3 separate regions of the Homo sapiens genome follow, and regions 2 and 3 are each linked to region 1. The links are contacts of gene promoters, found by promoter capture Hi-C in human tissues and cell types (Jung and others, 2019). All regions are on one chromosome and are shown on one strand. The core of a region is centred on a gene start or on the middle of the fragment in contact, and the rest is flanking DNA. Distances in the headings are between cores, read along the strand shown. Region 1 holds the start of ZNF442 (zinc finger protein 442). Region 2 has its middle 53 kb from the start of ZNF44. Region 3 overlaps ZNF709 (zinc finger protein 709).

Region 1 (4,995 bases), core at 945-3,444:
CTAACACGGTGAAACCCCTTCTCTACTAAAAATACAAAAAATTAGCCGGGCATGGTGGCACGCGCCTGTAGTCCCAGCTACTTGGGAGGCTTAGGCAGGAGAACAGTGTGAACCCAGGAGGCAGAAGTTGCAGTGAGCCGAGATTGTGCCACTGCACTCCAGCCTGGGGGACAGAGCGTGAGACTCTGTCTCAAAAAAATATATATAATAATAATAATTGAGACCCTGGGGAAGGAATGCATTCCTGGGGGTAGGTCTATAGATGGCTGCTCTGCGAGTATCTGTCTTAATGCAGTTGAGATAAGGACTGAAATACGCCCTGGTCTCCTGCAGTGCCCTCAGGCTTACTAGGATTGGGAAGTTCCAGCCTGGTAAATTCTAGTCAGACTGGTTGTCTGCTCTCGAACCCTGTTTCCTGTTAAGATGTTTATCAAGACAGTGCATGCACAGCAGGACACAGACCCTCATCAGTAATTCTAATTTTGCCTTTGCCTTGTGATCTTTTATTGCCCTTTGAGGCATGTGATCTTTGTGACTTACTCCCTGTTCGTACACCCCCTCCCCTATTAGAATCCCTAATAAAAACTTGCTGGTTTTGCAGCCCAGGTGGGCATCATGGAACCTGCCGATATGTGATGTCACCCCTGGAGGCCCAGCTGTAAAATTCTTCTCTTTGTACTCTTTCTCTTAATTTCTCAGATGGGCCGACACTTAGGGAAAATAGAACCTACGTTGAAATATTGGGGGCTGGTTTCCCCGATAGTAGTCACTCTTCAGCTGGGTGTGGGTTCTGTCTTTGAAGTAATCTTTTGTTGGAAAGAGAATTCCAGAGGTGCCTGGTACCTAACAAGATCCAACCCCTGAAGCTTCTAAGGAAATATATGACCAAATAAGAGAGCATGGTGTGTGCTTAATAAGTATTTAGGTAAATAAATGTGCACAGGCCAGGCGTGGTGGCTCACGCCTGTAATCCTAACACTTTGGGAGGCCGAGGCCGGCGGATTGCCTGAGCTCAGGAGTTCACGACCAGCCTGGGCAACATGGTGAAACCCTGTCTCTACTAAAATACAAAAAAATTAGCTGGGCATGGCAGCGTGCACCTGTAGTCCAGTGTGCTACTCGGGAGGCTGAGGCAGGAGAATTGCTTCAACTTGGGAGGCGGAGGTTGCAGTGAGCCAAGATTGAGCCACTACAGTCTGTCCTGGGTGACAGAGTGAGACTCCGTCTCCAAAAAAATAAAATAAAAATAAATGTGCATAAGGCATGGCAGTGTAGTATGGGAAAGGAAAGGGAGTGGAAGTTCACAGCACATTCTGAGGCTGTATTTTAAGATGAGAGGTAACATCTATGCAGTTTATCTCGAAGTTATTATCTTGAGATCAGGAGGGGAAAGAGGAAAAGGGAAAGAAGAAGAAAAAAAAGGTTTAAAACGTGGTTTGAGACTCAGCTGCTAAGCTGCTGGTTACACACTCTGGGACTCAACTTCAGGAGTCAGAATCTGCCTTCTAAGCTTGAAAATATGTTTAACCTCCTGAAAGGGGGTTTCCTGCTGAACTGTGGCTGAAATTTCTCTGAACTAATTCAGGTTTTTTCTTTTCCCTTCTTTTGATTCCTTTATAGAAGATTACTGCCATATAATTCCAGATTTTCCATGCATTTAACAATTTTATTTCATTGTTGATGTGTTTTTATTTTCTGGTCTGAGAATGAGTAGATTGGGAGATAAGGTGGGAGAAAGGCTTGACCATGGAGCCAGCAGTCTCATCCTAAATTCCTGATCCCTGGAGGACACCAGGCCTTCCCTCCTGCTTCAGTGTGGTTTGTGTGGCCTGGGCCTCCCCTACCGCTCTGAGGCCAGGGGATGGCTCCACTGGGCAGTGAGTCTCGAATTCCCAGCACACACTTGTGGGTCCCCGTCCAGGAAGAAGGAGCAGGAAGAGCCCATTGAGTACAGGCAGGAAATTCCGCTTAAATGCAAATGTCCCCTGGGAGGGGTCAGGTCACAGCGAAGGGAGGAAGCCCACCCTATCAAGGGCTGTGTCTGGAACCGCTTCATCTCGCTCCACTCAGCCGTGTAAGATCCTTCTTCTGTCAATCAGTTCCCTGGGGGGGCGGAATTTGGAGCTCTACCCAATCAGTGTTGGGGGCGAGTTCTTGGGAACTGCCAGTCAGGCGCGCTGCCGGGAGGAGGGTGGAGCTTTCTACACCCCTCTGAGCTCCCGCTCCTGGCTCTGTAGCTGAGAGAAGCCCTGGCAGGTCAGTGGCAGGCACTGTCACGCTGAGTCCTATGCTGGCAGCGGGGAACCTTGGGGAGAACACGGGACACCGCGGAAGCCGGGAAATGGTGAGTGTGCGGGGCCCGGCGTCCTGGGGCAGGGCGAAGGACTGGTTGGAACCGGCCAGAACCGGCTGTGGCGGGACCCGGGCGTCCCCGCGGCGACTGCGGGGTCTGTGGACCCGAGTTCCCCTGGCCCAGCCGGCCTTCAGTCCCCTCGGCCGCGGGGTGGGAGCTGGGGGCTGGGCCGGCAGCCGGGACCCCGGGCGTCCTGTCCCGTTTCTGCGCAGCAACTGCGGCCCCGGCTCCCGCGCCCTCTCTGGGGCAGCTCCATGCCCACAGCTCCGCGTCTTCCCAGATTGTGCGGCTGTAACCGGCACAGGTTCGCGGTCCGAGTCACTGCACCGAGACTCCAAGGCCTGCAGCAGAAACAGTTTAATAGGGGGAGAGGAGAGAAGACCCCAGTTCCGCCTCCATGAGAGGTTTGGGGATGGGGGTGTTTAGGGGTCTGGACAGGGGCGGCTGAAGTGTGGGGTCGCTGGTTGGTGGGGAAGTGACAGGCGAATCCTGGGACGGGAGGTGAAGAAACCGCATTCTCCTGCTGAGTGGGTTCCCTCGTGGGGTTTTCACCCTGCTTGGCGCCAGCCTTTCCGTTGGAATTCAAGATCTGAGAAAGAACTTGGGCAACTCGAGCAGCTCTCCGAGATCTTATCCCCAGGCACAATGCAGAAGCCGGCGGTCAGTGTCTTCTGTGACCTGACTCTCAGGAAGGCGGCCCCCGCGAGGCAGTGGGGCTCAGGGTACCTGGTTAATATCTAACTGCAATCAGAATCCAGATTCTTGCGTGGGGTTTGTGCACGGGAGGAGCTGTGGTCTGCGGGGTCCCCAGTCCCTTCTTTTCTTCCCAGGGTGACTGATTCCTCTTCGAGTTTTTCAGAGATGGGGGTAGCAGGGTCTCAAATCCACTACCCTGTTCCCTCATTCTAACTCCTCCTAGGGGTGGTAGTAACTCCCTTGGTTTCCAGAGCCTTACGCAGGCTAACTTTCCCTCCTCAGTTCACAGCAACATCATGAACTCCTCCCTCCTCCGCCCCACCCGTGCTAAATTTCAGAGTCCCAGTATTTTAATTTTCATTTTGTTTTCAGAGAGCAATGGATGGCTTCTTTTTTTCTTTCTTTCTTTTTTTTTTTTTTGAGATGGAGTTGTGCTCTTGTTGCCCAGGCTGGAGTGCAATGGTGCGATGTCGGCTCACCGCAACCTCCGCCTCCCGGGTTCAAGAAATTCTCCTGTCTCACCCTCCCGAGTAGCTGGAATTACAGGCACCCACCACCACACCCGGCTAATTTTTTGTATTTTTAGTAGCGACGGGGTTTCACCATGTTGGCCAAGCTCATCTCGAACTCATGACCTCAGGTGATCCGCCCGCCTCGGCCTCCCAAAGTGCTGGGATTACAGGCGTGACCACCGCGCCCGGCCGGCTTCTTAAAAGATTTGTGTTCCTGAACATTTCACATGTGAGGAAGCAGAGAATAACCTGACACTGCACTGTAAAAAACAAAAAAACAAACAAAAAAACCTTTGTGTCTCTCCTTTTCTTTCCCCTGGGTACGGATACCTAATCAACATTGAAAGTCCCCTTTAGAAACTTTATGGGGTGATGTGTTCTCAGCCCACTCTCTGCCTTTTCCTGGTTCTGTTTCAGAACTGCCTGGGGTTGACCCAAGATACACACAGCTGCCCTGTCTCTGGGAGGGTCCAGTGAATATCAGTCCCTGGGTCATTTCTCCCAGTGAGCAGCCTGAGGTGTTGGGGTGGGGCCTCACAGAGAACAGCTGGATGCCCTGGGTGGGATGGGAGGAATATTCTGGTATACCATTTCTATAAAAAGCTAACCCTTGGGACAATCACCTTGTTCTTCCCCAACCCCAGTTTCCATTCCTTGGGGACACACGGCTGGTCAGCCAGTTGAATGATTGTATTTGGGGGAGAAGACAGAAGTGATCTCTTCCTTCCTGACTCTCAGACTAATGAAGAGAGAAAACAATATGTAAGCACTGGAGAACCCACTCATTCCAGTTGTGCAAGAACCTCCCATTCAGGTCAGGTGTGCATGAGCCTGAAAAGCACACAGTGAAGTATCTCCTGGGGTGGTGGTGGGTGGTCACTGAGCACTTTACTGAGCAGATGGGGGTGACTAATGTCCCAGGAGATGGGATGACCTGACACCTGAGTTAGACTTGTTTGTGTTCGAGTCAGTGCTGCCCATCCCTGAGGTTGTCACATTGAAAAGAGATACTCACTCTTTTCAGCTTCAACGTTTTATTAACTATAAGATTAGAGATTGATAGAGAAAGTATTTCCATAGAGGCCAGAAATAGTTAGATTTCAGAAAACAGGTCACATATGTAGCCATCTATTCCTTTTTTTTTTTTTTTTTTTTTTGAGACGGAGCTTCGCACTGTTGCCCAGGCTGGAATGCAGTTGTGCGATCTCAGCTTACTGCAACCTCTGCCTTCTGGGTTCAAACGATCCTCCCATCTCAGCCTCCCGAGTAGCTGGGATTACAGGCCTGCACCACCACACCTGGCTAATTTTTTTTTTGTTTTGTTTTTTGTATTTTTAGTAGAGACGGGGTTTCACTATGTTGGCCAGGCTGGTCTTGAACTCCTGACCTCAAGTGATCTGCCTCCTCAGCCTCCAATTTTTTTTTTTTTTCCCA
Region 2 (4,995 bases), core at 797-3,296, 120 kb after region 1:
ATCAAAGCCAAATGTGAGGATTGGCCTGGGACGCACCAACAAGTTGTATATGTTTCAAAGTCTATTACAAGTTGGAACACTCATAAGTTTAGGAGGCCAGGTGCCGTGGCTTATGCCTATAATTCCACGTACTTGGGAGGAGTGCCTGAGGCTAGGAATCTGGGACCAACCTGGGCGACATAGGGAGACTTCATGTCTAAAATAAATAAATAAATAAATTATTAGCTGGGCATAGTGGTGCCCAATTGTAGTCCCAGTACTCAGAAGTGTGAGTCAGGAAGATCGTTTGAATCCAGGAGTTCGACACCAACCTGGGTAACATAATGAGACCCCTCTCATCTCAAAAAACTAACAAATTAAGAAAAATAGACTGGTTTCTGCAAGGGGTAAAAACAATAAGAAAAAATAAATTTAAAAACCCTGAGTGGACATTTTTTTCAAAGAAGACATACAAATGGCCGGAAAGCAAATGAAAAGGGACTTAATATCACTAATCATTAGAGAAATTCAAATCAAAACCACAATTACATGTTACCTCATACATGCAAGGATGGGTACTATCAAGAGAGATTAGTGTTAGAGTACAGAGAAAAAGGAAGCTTTGTATACTGTTGGTGGGAATGTACATTGGTACAGCCATTGTGAAAAACAATATGGAGGTTCTGCAAAAAAAAACAAAAACTACCATGTGATCCAACAGTCTCACTCCTGGGTATATGCATATATGACCAAAGGCAGTGATCAGTATTTCAAAGAGATATCTGCCACTCGCATATGTTCATTACAGCATTATTCACAATAGTCAACATATGGAAACAAACTTAGCATCCATTAATGGATGAATAAAGAAAGTGTGATGTATATTTAAACAGAATATTACTCAGCCGTAAAAAGGAAATCCTGACATTTGTCACATGAATAAACCTGGTGGACACTATAAAATAAGGCAGACATAGGCAAATACTTCATGATCCCACTTAATTGTGGAATATTAAAAACTTAAACTCCGAGGCAGAGGGAGGAACGGTGGTTACTAGAGTCCAGAAGGTAGGGAAAATGGAGAAATGTTGGTCAAAGGTTAAAAACCAAGTTGTAAGGTGAACACGTTCTGGAGATTTAATGTACAGCATGGGTGGTCATCAATGTGTTAATTTGACTGTGGTAACCATTACAGAATGTATATATATACATCAAAACATAACTGTACATCATGAACATATACAATCTTTGTGAAGTATTTTAAAATAAAAAAGGAATGTTTACTGAATCTACGCCTGTTGGATCTTTGTATTACTGAGAAGTGTTGAAGTCTTCAGTTAACTGTGAATTTTTCTGTGTCACCTTGCAGTTCTGTGTGTTCTTGCATGACGTATTTTGGCAATTTGTTAAGTGCATGTATTTAAAATTATGTCATTTCTATTGCTGGGTCTTAATTTCTTCCTGAAATATCTGATCTGGTTATTCAATCCAGTGCATATTTTATACCAGGCATTGTTGTTTTCCTTTCTAGTAGCTCAAATTGTGTCTTTAGTTTTTAATTTTTTTTCTTTCAGACAGGGTCTCCCTGTCACCCAGGCTGGAGTTCAGTAGTGTTCTCTTGGCTCACTGAAACTGCTGCCTCCCAAGCAAATGATCCTCCCACCTCAGCCTCCTGAATAGCTGGGACTACAGGTGCACACTACCATGCCCAGGTAATTTTTTAAATCATATTTTTTTTTTTTTTTTTTTTTGGAGAGACAAGGTCTTACTATATAGGTCTTACTATATTGCCCAGACAGGTTTCCTGGGCTCAAGGGATCTTCCTGCCTTGGCCTCTCGAAGTGCTGGGATTACAGGTGTGAGCCGTGTGCCAATGTGCCTGGCCAGTTTTTAATTTTTTTTTTTTTTTGAGCCGGAGTCTCGCTCTGTCACCCAGGCTGGAGTGCAGTAGTGCAATCTCGGCTCACTGCAAGCTCCGCCTCCCAGGTTCACGCTATTCTCCTGCCTCAGCCTCCCGAGTAGCTAGGACTACAGGTGCCCACCACCACGCCCGGCTAATTTTTTGTATTTTTAGTAGAGACAGGGTTTCACTGTGTTAGCCAGGATGGTCCTTGAACTCCTGACCTCATGTGATCTGCCCACCTCGGCCTCCCAAAGTGCTGGGATTACAGGCGTGAGCCACCGCACCCGGCCTTTAATTTTTTTTAAGGTCAAATATAGTAACATAGAATTTACCATTGTAAGTATGCCATTCAGTAGCATTAAATACATTAACAGTGCTTTAGAACCATCACAGCTAGCTAGCTAGTTCCAGAATTTTTTCATTAGTCCAAAAAAAAATTGGTACCCATTAAACAACCATTCCCTATTCCTCCCATCCCCATCCCTTGGTAATCTCTATTTTCCTTTCTTGCTCTATGAATTTGCTGATTCTAGGTGCGTCATGTAAGTAGAAGCATGCAGTATTTGTCCTTATGTGTCTGGCTTATTTCACTTAGCATAATGTTTTCAAGGTTCATCCACATGTTAGCATGTACCAGTAATTCAGTTTTTGTGCCTGAATAATATTCCCAAGTGTGGTATATTGGATACACCACACTTTGTTTATCCATCCATATGTTGAGCACTTGGGTTGTTTCCACAAAACTCTTTTGACTACTCTGAATACTGCTCTAAAATCAGTGCGTATGTGTCTGAGTCCCTGCTTTCCATGGTTGATTGATTGCAACGGAGTCTCGCTCTGTTGCCCAGGCTGGAGTGCAGTGGTGCGATCTTGGCTCACTGAAACCTCCACCTCCCAGGTTCAAGTGTTTCTCCTGTCTCAGCCTCCTGAGTGGCTGTGATTACAGGTGTCTGCCACTATGCCCAGCTAACTTTTTGTATTTTTAGTAGAGACAGGGTTTCACCATGTTGGCCAGGAAGGCTGGTCTTGGACTCCTGACCTCTGGTGATCCACCCACTTTGGCCTCCCAGAGTACTGGGATTACAAGTGTGAGCCACCGTGCCTGGCCTCTATTCTTTTAGATACATACCTAGGAGTGGAATTGCTGGGTCACAGGGTTTTCTATGTTCATGTATAGCCATACTGTTTTTCACAGTGGCTGTGTGTAAAATTCTCCCCAGCAATACACAAGGACTGCAGTTTCTATGCATGCTCACCAACCCTGGTTATATTCTACTTTTTGTTTTAAATGGCAGCCATTCCAACAGTTGTGAACTGTCACTGGTGTTTTGATTTACATTTCCCTAATCACCAGTGGTAATGAGCATTATTCCATGTGGTTGTTGGCCATTTATATATCTTTGTACAAATGTTTTCAAGTCCCTCACTCATTTTTGAATGGGCTCATTGGTTTGTTTTGTTGAGTTGTAGGAGTTCCTATGTATTTTGGGTATTAATCTCTTCCAAGATACGTGATTTGCAAATATGTTCTCATTCTGTATGTTGTCTTTTGGTGCACAAAAGTTTTAAATTTTCATGTAGTTCAGTTTATCTTTTGTTTGCCTGTGCTTTAGATTTCATATCCAAGAAATGATTGTTAAATCCAATGTCATGAAAATTTCTCCTATATCTTCTTCTAAGTCTTCTATGGTTTTGGCTTTTAAGTTTAGATCTTTGACTCAAAATTAATTTTTGTATATAAGGTAAGGGTCCAACTTTATTCTTTAGAATGTAGATACCCAGTTTTCCCAACAACATATGTTTAAAGACCATCCTTTCTCCATTGAATGATCATGGCACTGTTGTCAAAAAATCATTTGACCACATATGCAAGCATTTTCTTTCTAGGATCTGTGTTCTGTATGTCTGTCCCTACACAGTACCATGTGGTTTCGATGATGGTAGTTTTATAGCCAGTTTGAAATCAGGAAGCGTGAGTCTTTGAACTTTTTTTCAAGATTGTTTTGGTATTAGGGGAGATTCCAAATGAACGTTAGGGTTGATTTTTTCTAGTTTTTTTTTTTTTTTTTTTGAGATAGAATCTCACTCTGTCTCCCAGGCTGGAGTGTAGTGGCACAATCTCAGTGCACTGCACCCTCCATCTCCTGGGTTCAAGTAATTCTCCTGCCTCAGCCTCCTGAGTAGCTGGAATTACAGGCACGAGCCACCACACCCGGCTAATTTTTTGTATTTTTAGTAGAGACGGGGTTTCACCGTGTTGGCCATGCTGGTCTTGAACTCTTGACCTCAAGTGATCTGCCTGCCTCAGCCTCCCAAAGTGCTGGGATTACAGGTGTGAGCCATTGTGCCCGGCCTAAAAAGAAGGCCATAAGGATTTTGATAGGGGTTGCATTGTATCTGTAGATTAATTTGGGTAGTATGCTCATCCTAACAATAGGAAGTCTTACAATCCATGAACATGGGATTACTTGCGATTTATTTGTCTGTTCTTTAATTTGTTTCAGCAATCTTTTGTAGTGTTCAGTGTACAAGATACAGGCCTCTTGGCTGAATTTTTACTGTTTTTGGTGCTTTTGTAAATGGAATTGTTTCATTAATTTTCTTTCAGACCGTTTATTGTTACTATATAAAAACGCAACTTGGGGCTGGGCACGGTAGCTCACACCTGTAATCCCAGCACTTTGGGAAGCCAAGGCGGGTGGAGCACGAGGTCAGGAGTTCCAAGACCAGCTTGGCCAACATAGTGAAACCCCATCTCTACTAAAAATACAAAAATTAGCTGCGTGTGGTGGCATGCGCCTGTAGTCTCAGCTACTCAGGAGGCTGAGGCAGGAGAATCGCTTGAACAGGGAGGTGGAGGTTGCAGTGAGTGACACCACGCCACTGCACTCCAGCCTGGATGACAGAGTTAGACTCTATCTCAAAAAAAAAAAAAAAAAAAAAAAAATGCAACTTGGGCTGGGCTTGCTCGGTGGCTCACACCTATAAGCCCAGCATTTTGGGAGGCTGAGGCAGGAGGATCACTTGAGGGCAGGACTTCGAGACCAGCCTCAGCAACATAGTGAGACCCCCATCTTGTTTAAAAAAAAAAAAAAAAAAAAAGGCCAGGTGCA
Region 3 (4,995 bases), core at 1,470-3,969, 110 kb before region 1:
GACTTCAAGCTATCCTCCTGCCATGGCCTCCCAGAGTGCTGGGATTACAGGCATGAGCCACTGCTCCTGGCCTAGATTTTACATTTAGTTCTGTGATCCATTTTGAGCCAGTTTTTGTTTAAGGTGTAACGTCTGTTTCTAGATTTGTGTTTTTTTCATTGTGTTTTGCATGTGGATGTTCAGTTTTTCCAACACTGTTTGTTGAAAAAGGCTATCTTTTTTCATTGAATTGCTGTTGGTCATTTGTTGAAAATCAGATGACTCAGTGAGTCTATACTATACTAATGTGAGTCTGTAAGAAGGCAATTGACTTTTGTATATTAAGATTATATCCTCAACCTCTAGTTTGAGGAGTTTGTTGTGGATTCTTTGAGATTTTCTACTTAGACAATCATGTCACATGCGACAAAGACAGTGATATTTCTTTGTTCCCAATCTATATCTCTTCTCTCCTCTCCTCCCCTCTCCTCTCATTAGTTACACTTTGAGTACAATCTGTTGAGTAGGAGTGGTAAGAGGGGACATCTTTGCCCATTTCCTCATCTTACCAGGAAAGCATCTATTTTCTCACTATTAAATATGATATTAGCTGCAGGTTTCCTATAAATACTGCTTCTCAAAAAGAGGAAAGTCTATCTCCAGTTTCTTATCATAAATGCATGTTGGATTTTGCCCATAGCTTTTTCATTTTTATTTTTCCCACTTACATTTGTGATATTAGTAATTTCTGTTCTCTGTTTTTCAGTTAGCTTAACCATACATTTATCAAATATATTGATCTTTTCAAAGAAACACCTTTGGTTTTGTTTAATTTCTCTTTTTACTATTTCTTCTGTTGTGTGCTTACTTTGGGTTTAATTTGCTCATATTTTCTTGCTTTCCTCATGTAGATGCTTAGATTTTTTTTTTTTTTTTTTTTTTTTTAAGACGGAATCTCACTCTGTTGCCCAGGCTGGAGTACAGTGGTGCGATCTTGGCTCACTGCAACCTCCGCATCCTGGGTTCAAGCGATTCTTCTGCCTCAGCCTCCCAAGTAGCTGGGACTACAGGTGCCCACCACCATGCCCGGCTAATTTTTGTATTTTTAGTAGAAACAGGGTTTTGTCACTTTGGACAGGCTGGTGTCCAACTCCCGACCTCAGGTGATCTGCCTGCCTCAGCCTCCCAAAGTGCTGGGATTACAGGTGTTAGCCACTGTGCCTGGCCAGGATTTACATCTTTTTAATATTCAGTGTCCATTTTACAAGTTATGGTAGCTATAGTCACTTTAAATACTTTCATCTTTTAGCTTTTATACTAGAGTTGAAAGTGATGTTTGTACCACCATTATGTATAAGAATATTCTGGATTTGACTATACTTTTGCCTTTACCCATGAGTTTTATACTTTCATATCTTTTTGTGTTGCTAATTAGCTTAACACTTTGAATGTATTGTCCCACTCTCTTGACATCCAAGGTTTCTGCTAAGACATATATTTATAGTCTTACAGGTGTTGGTGAGGATTTAGAGAAAAGGGAACCTTGGTATACTGTTGGTAGAAGTTTAAATTTAAATTGATACAGGCATTATGGATAATAGCATAGATGTTTATCAGAAAATTAGAAAAGGAATTGCTACATGATCCAGCACTCTGCTTCTCCATATTTATCTAAAGGAATTGAAATCAACATCTTGAAGAGATATGTGCACTCCCATGTTCATTGCATCATTGTTCACAACAGCCAAGATATGTAAACAACCTAAATGTGTGTCAACAGATGAATGTGTGATGTTTACATAAAATAAAATATGATTTAGCCTTTAAAAAAAGGAAATCCTGCCATTGACAACACCATTGATGGACGTAGGGGACATTATGCTCAGTGAAATAAGCCAAACAGAAAGGCACATTCTTTGTAGTCTCACTTATATATGTAATCTAAAATAATCAAACTCATAGAAGCATAGAGTAGAATGGTAATTTGCAGGGGAAGGGGGAAATGGGGAGATGAAGCTGAAGAATACAAAGCTTCAGTTATGCAGATAAATGAGCTTTGAAGATCTACTATATGGCATAGTACCTATAGCTAACAACACAATGATTTTATAGTTAAACATTCCTTTTAAAAATGTTTAAAAATTTGTATTCATTTTTAAGATGGGATCGTGCCCCATTATCCAGGCTGGAGTGCAATGGCACAATCGTGGCTCACTGCAGCCTCAAACTCCTGGGCTCAAGCAATCCTCCTGTCCCAGCCTCTTAAGTACCTGGGACTACAGGCAAATGCCACCACACCCACCTAAGATTTTTACATTTTTTTCTAGAGATGTGATCTCACTATGTTGCCTAGGCTGGTCATGAATTCCTGGCATCAAGTGATCCTCCCACCTTGGCCTCCCAAAGTGCTGGGGTTATAGGTGTGAGCCACTGTGCCTAGTCTTAAAATTTCTAAAATAGATATTATGTTGTATTCTTAACACATAGAGAGACACACAAATAGTAATAATAATGAAGGGGGAAAGAAACTTTTGTGATGAATATGTCTATGTCCTTATGATACTGAGGGCTTCATAGGTGTATACTTATCCCCAAACTCATTGAGTTGTATACATTAAATATGTACAACTTTTTCATGTCAATCATTGCCTCAATAAGTGATTTAAAAATATAAATTTATAGGTGAGCTTTGGTCAGTCATTAATTAGTCTATTGATGTTCTCCTCTGGCTTATCTCCATCCTGCTTCATAGATGGCCACAGTCTTGATTATTTGATTATTCTTTATACCTTTATCTTCCATTTCACTATGTGATGTTCTTTTAGTTGAGCCTTATTTGAACTTTAAATACATGAGTATTAGTGGAATTAACAATGAAAAGGTTTTTGAGTGGTTTTGCCTCTGTGTTTCACATGATAGTGACAGGCTGGGGGAATCCAATTTTATCATCCAATCCATTGATGGTGGTGTTTGGGCTTTTTCCAGTTCATTTTTTGCTCTTGTGAAAAATACTGATCCTATTGTTTTGGTATCTGTGTCTAAGTACAAATACACAATAACTTCTCTGGATGTTGGAGAAAAATCACTGTGCTATAGATTATGGTCAAGTTCAAATATACAGGAAATAGCAATGGAGTGTATCAGTTGATCTTTCTTCCATTCATGCATAACTATTTGTCTATTGGCAGTGGTCATCAATACTTGGGAGTAGCTAATTGACTGATTTTTGTCCTTCTAATATGTAAGAAATTGGATCTATTTGGTATTTCATTTGGCTGTATCAAGGAAGGAGCGAGATGTACCTTTTCCTTTTTTTTTTTGAGACAGAGTCTCACTCTGTCACCCAGGCTGGAGTGCAGTGGCGCGATCGTGGCTCACTGCAACCTCCACCTCCCATGCTCAAGCAATCCTCGTGTCTTGGCTACCTGAGTAGCCAGGATTACAGGCCCGTGCCACCACACCTGGCTAATTTTTGTATTTTTTGTAGAGACAGAGTTTCGCCATGTTGGCCAGGCTGGTCTCAAACTTCTAACCTCAAGTGATCTGCTCGCCTCGACCTTCCAAAGTTCTGGGATTACAGGCGTGAGCCACCGTGCCCAGCCAGACCTTTTTTCATATATATGGTGTGTCATCCTCTCTTAAATATGTTTTCATTATTTTTCCTTTTTTTTTTTTTTTTTTGAGATGGAGTCTCGCTCTGTCGCCGAGGCTGGAGTGCAGTGGCACGATCTGGGCTCGCTGCAACCTCCACCTCCCGGGTTCAAGCAGTTCTCCTGCCTCAGCCTCCCAAGTAGCTGGGATTACAGGTGCCCACCACCATGCCTGGCTAATTTTTGTATTTTTAGTAGAGATGGGGTTTCACCATGTTGGCCAGACTGGTCTTGAACTCCTGACCTTAGGTGATCCACCCGCCTTGGCCTCCCAGAGTGTTGGGATTACAGATGTGAGCCACCGTGCCTGGCCTGTGTTTCCGTTTTTAAATCATGTGTTCACTTTTTATTTATTTGGCTATTTTATTACTTATTTATTGACAGAGTCTTGCCCTGTTACCCAGGCTGGTGTGATAGCTTACTGCAGCCTCTAACTCCTGGGTTCATATGATCCTCCTGCCTCAGCTTCCTGAGTAGCTAGGACTACAAGTGTGAGCCATCATGCCTGACTGTTCATTTATTTTTACTCTGCATACTAGTTCATTTATATTGCATGTATGTCACATATTTTTTTCCTGCTTTGTGATTTGTCTTTTAACTTTCTTGATTTTAGTATGTTTGAACTTTTCAGTCTCATCCTTTATGGCTTACTCTTACATGAGAAAATTCTCCCTACTCTTGCATTTAAAAAAGTTTGCCTGTGACTTTTGAAACAGTTTTAATTATATTATTCACATTTAAATCTACATTAAATTGATTATTGTCTATGGAAAAGAGCTGATGCAATGCTTTTTCCAGTTAGACAACAGTGTGTCCCTTCTGCATATATTGAAGTGTTAGTGATCTCTTCCACTACCCTACAATGGTTGCTCTATCATTAATCAATTTTCCTTATAAATGCCAGTCCATTGAAGACACTTTTCCCCTCCCTTGTTCTATTTAGCTCTCTGTGTGTCATGCTGTTTGGAGTGTTAATAGTTTGAAAATCCTTGATACATACTAGGCAAGTATTTATGTTGCTCTTCAAAAGACTTTACCCATTGTTTGACATTTATTGTTCCTCTTAGGTTTGGAAAAGTAGTTTTTCTTGACTATTTTAGGGATTTGTAGAATTTTATAAGTCTATTTTAAGAATTTTATAAGTCTATTTTAGGGATTTGTAGAATTTTATAAAGATATCATTTGGGAGCAGTGGCATCTTGTTGACACTGAGTTTGTTCTGAGAACATGTACCAACTTCCACCTTAATTTAATTCTGCTTTGACATTACCCAATAACATTTTTAAAATTAGGATTATTAAATATCCTTTATTAGCCTTATTTAGTCATAGTTGGTGTGGAGGAAAGCAGATGCAACCAAGCCTTT

Evidence for each region. The method cuts DNA at HindIII sites, captures the fragments that hold promoters and counts their contacts. A contact is called where the count stands out against the background at its distance.
Region 2: a fragment that was not itself captured here is called in contact with the fragment with the promoter of ZNF442 in region 1 in 2 of the 25 tissues and cell types used here (H1 embryonic stem cells and lymphoblastoid cells).
Region 3: a contact is called between a fragment that was not itself captured here and the fragment with the promoter of ZNF442 in region 1, in 6 of the 25 tissues and cell types used here (aorta, heart right atrium, hippocampus and 3 more).

What each region holds. Positions count from the first base shown.
Region 1 is chr19:12,362,882-12,367,876 of GRCh38, reverse strand. It overlaps ZNF442 (zinc finger protein 442), which reads left to right and starts at 2,194. Exons shown (of 6, transcript NM_030824.3): 1 at 2,194-2,344; 2 at 2,634-3,075; 3 at 4,206-4,323. The coding sequence starts at 4,246. RefSeq lists an enhancer at 2,281-2,380 and a silencer at 2,481-2,660. The HindIII fragment of the contact is 16,775 bases long and covers 1,189-4,995 here.
Region 2 is chr19:12,239,403-12,244,397 of GRCh38, reverse strand. It overlaps a transcript of ZNF44 not described here. Among named protein-coding and RNA genes, the nearest start is that of ZNF44, 53 kb to the left of the region's middle. The HindIII fragment of the contact is 7,661 bases long and covers 1-4,995 here.
Region 3 is chr19:12,471,187-12,476,181 of GRCh38, reverse strand. All of the region lies in intron 1 of ZNF709 (zinc finger protein 709), which reads left to right. Among named protein-coding and RNA genes, the nearest start is that of ZNF709, 11 kb to the left of the region's middle. The HindIII fragment of the contact is 7,611 bases long and covers 1-4,995 here.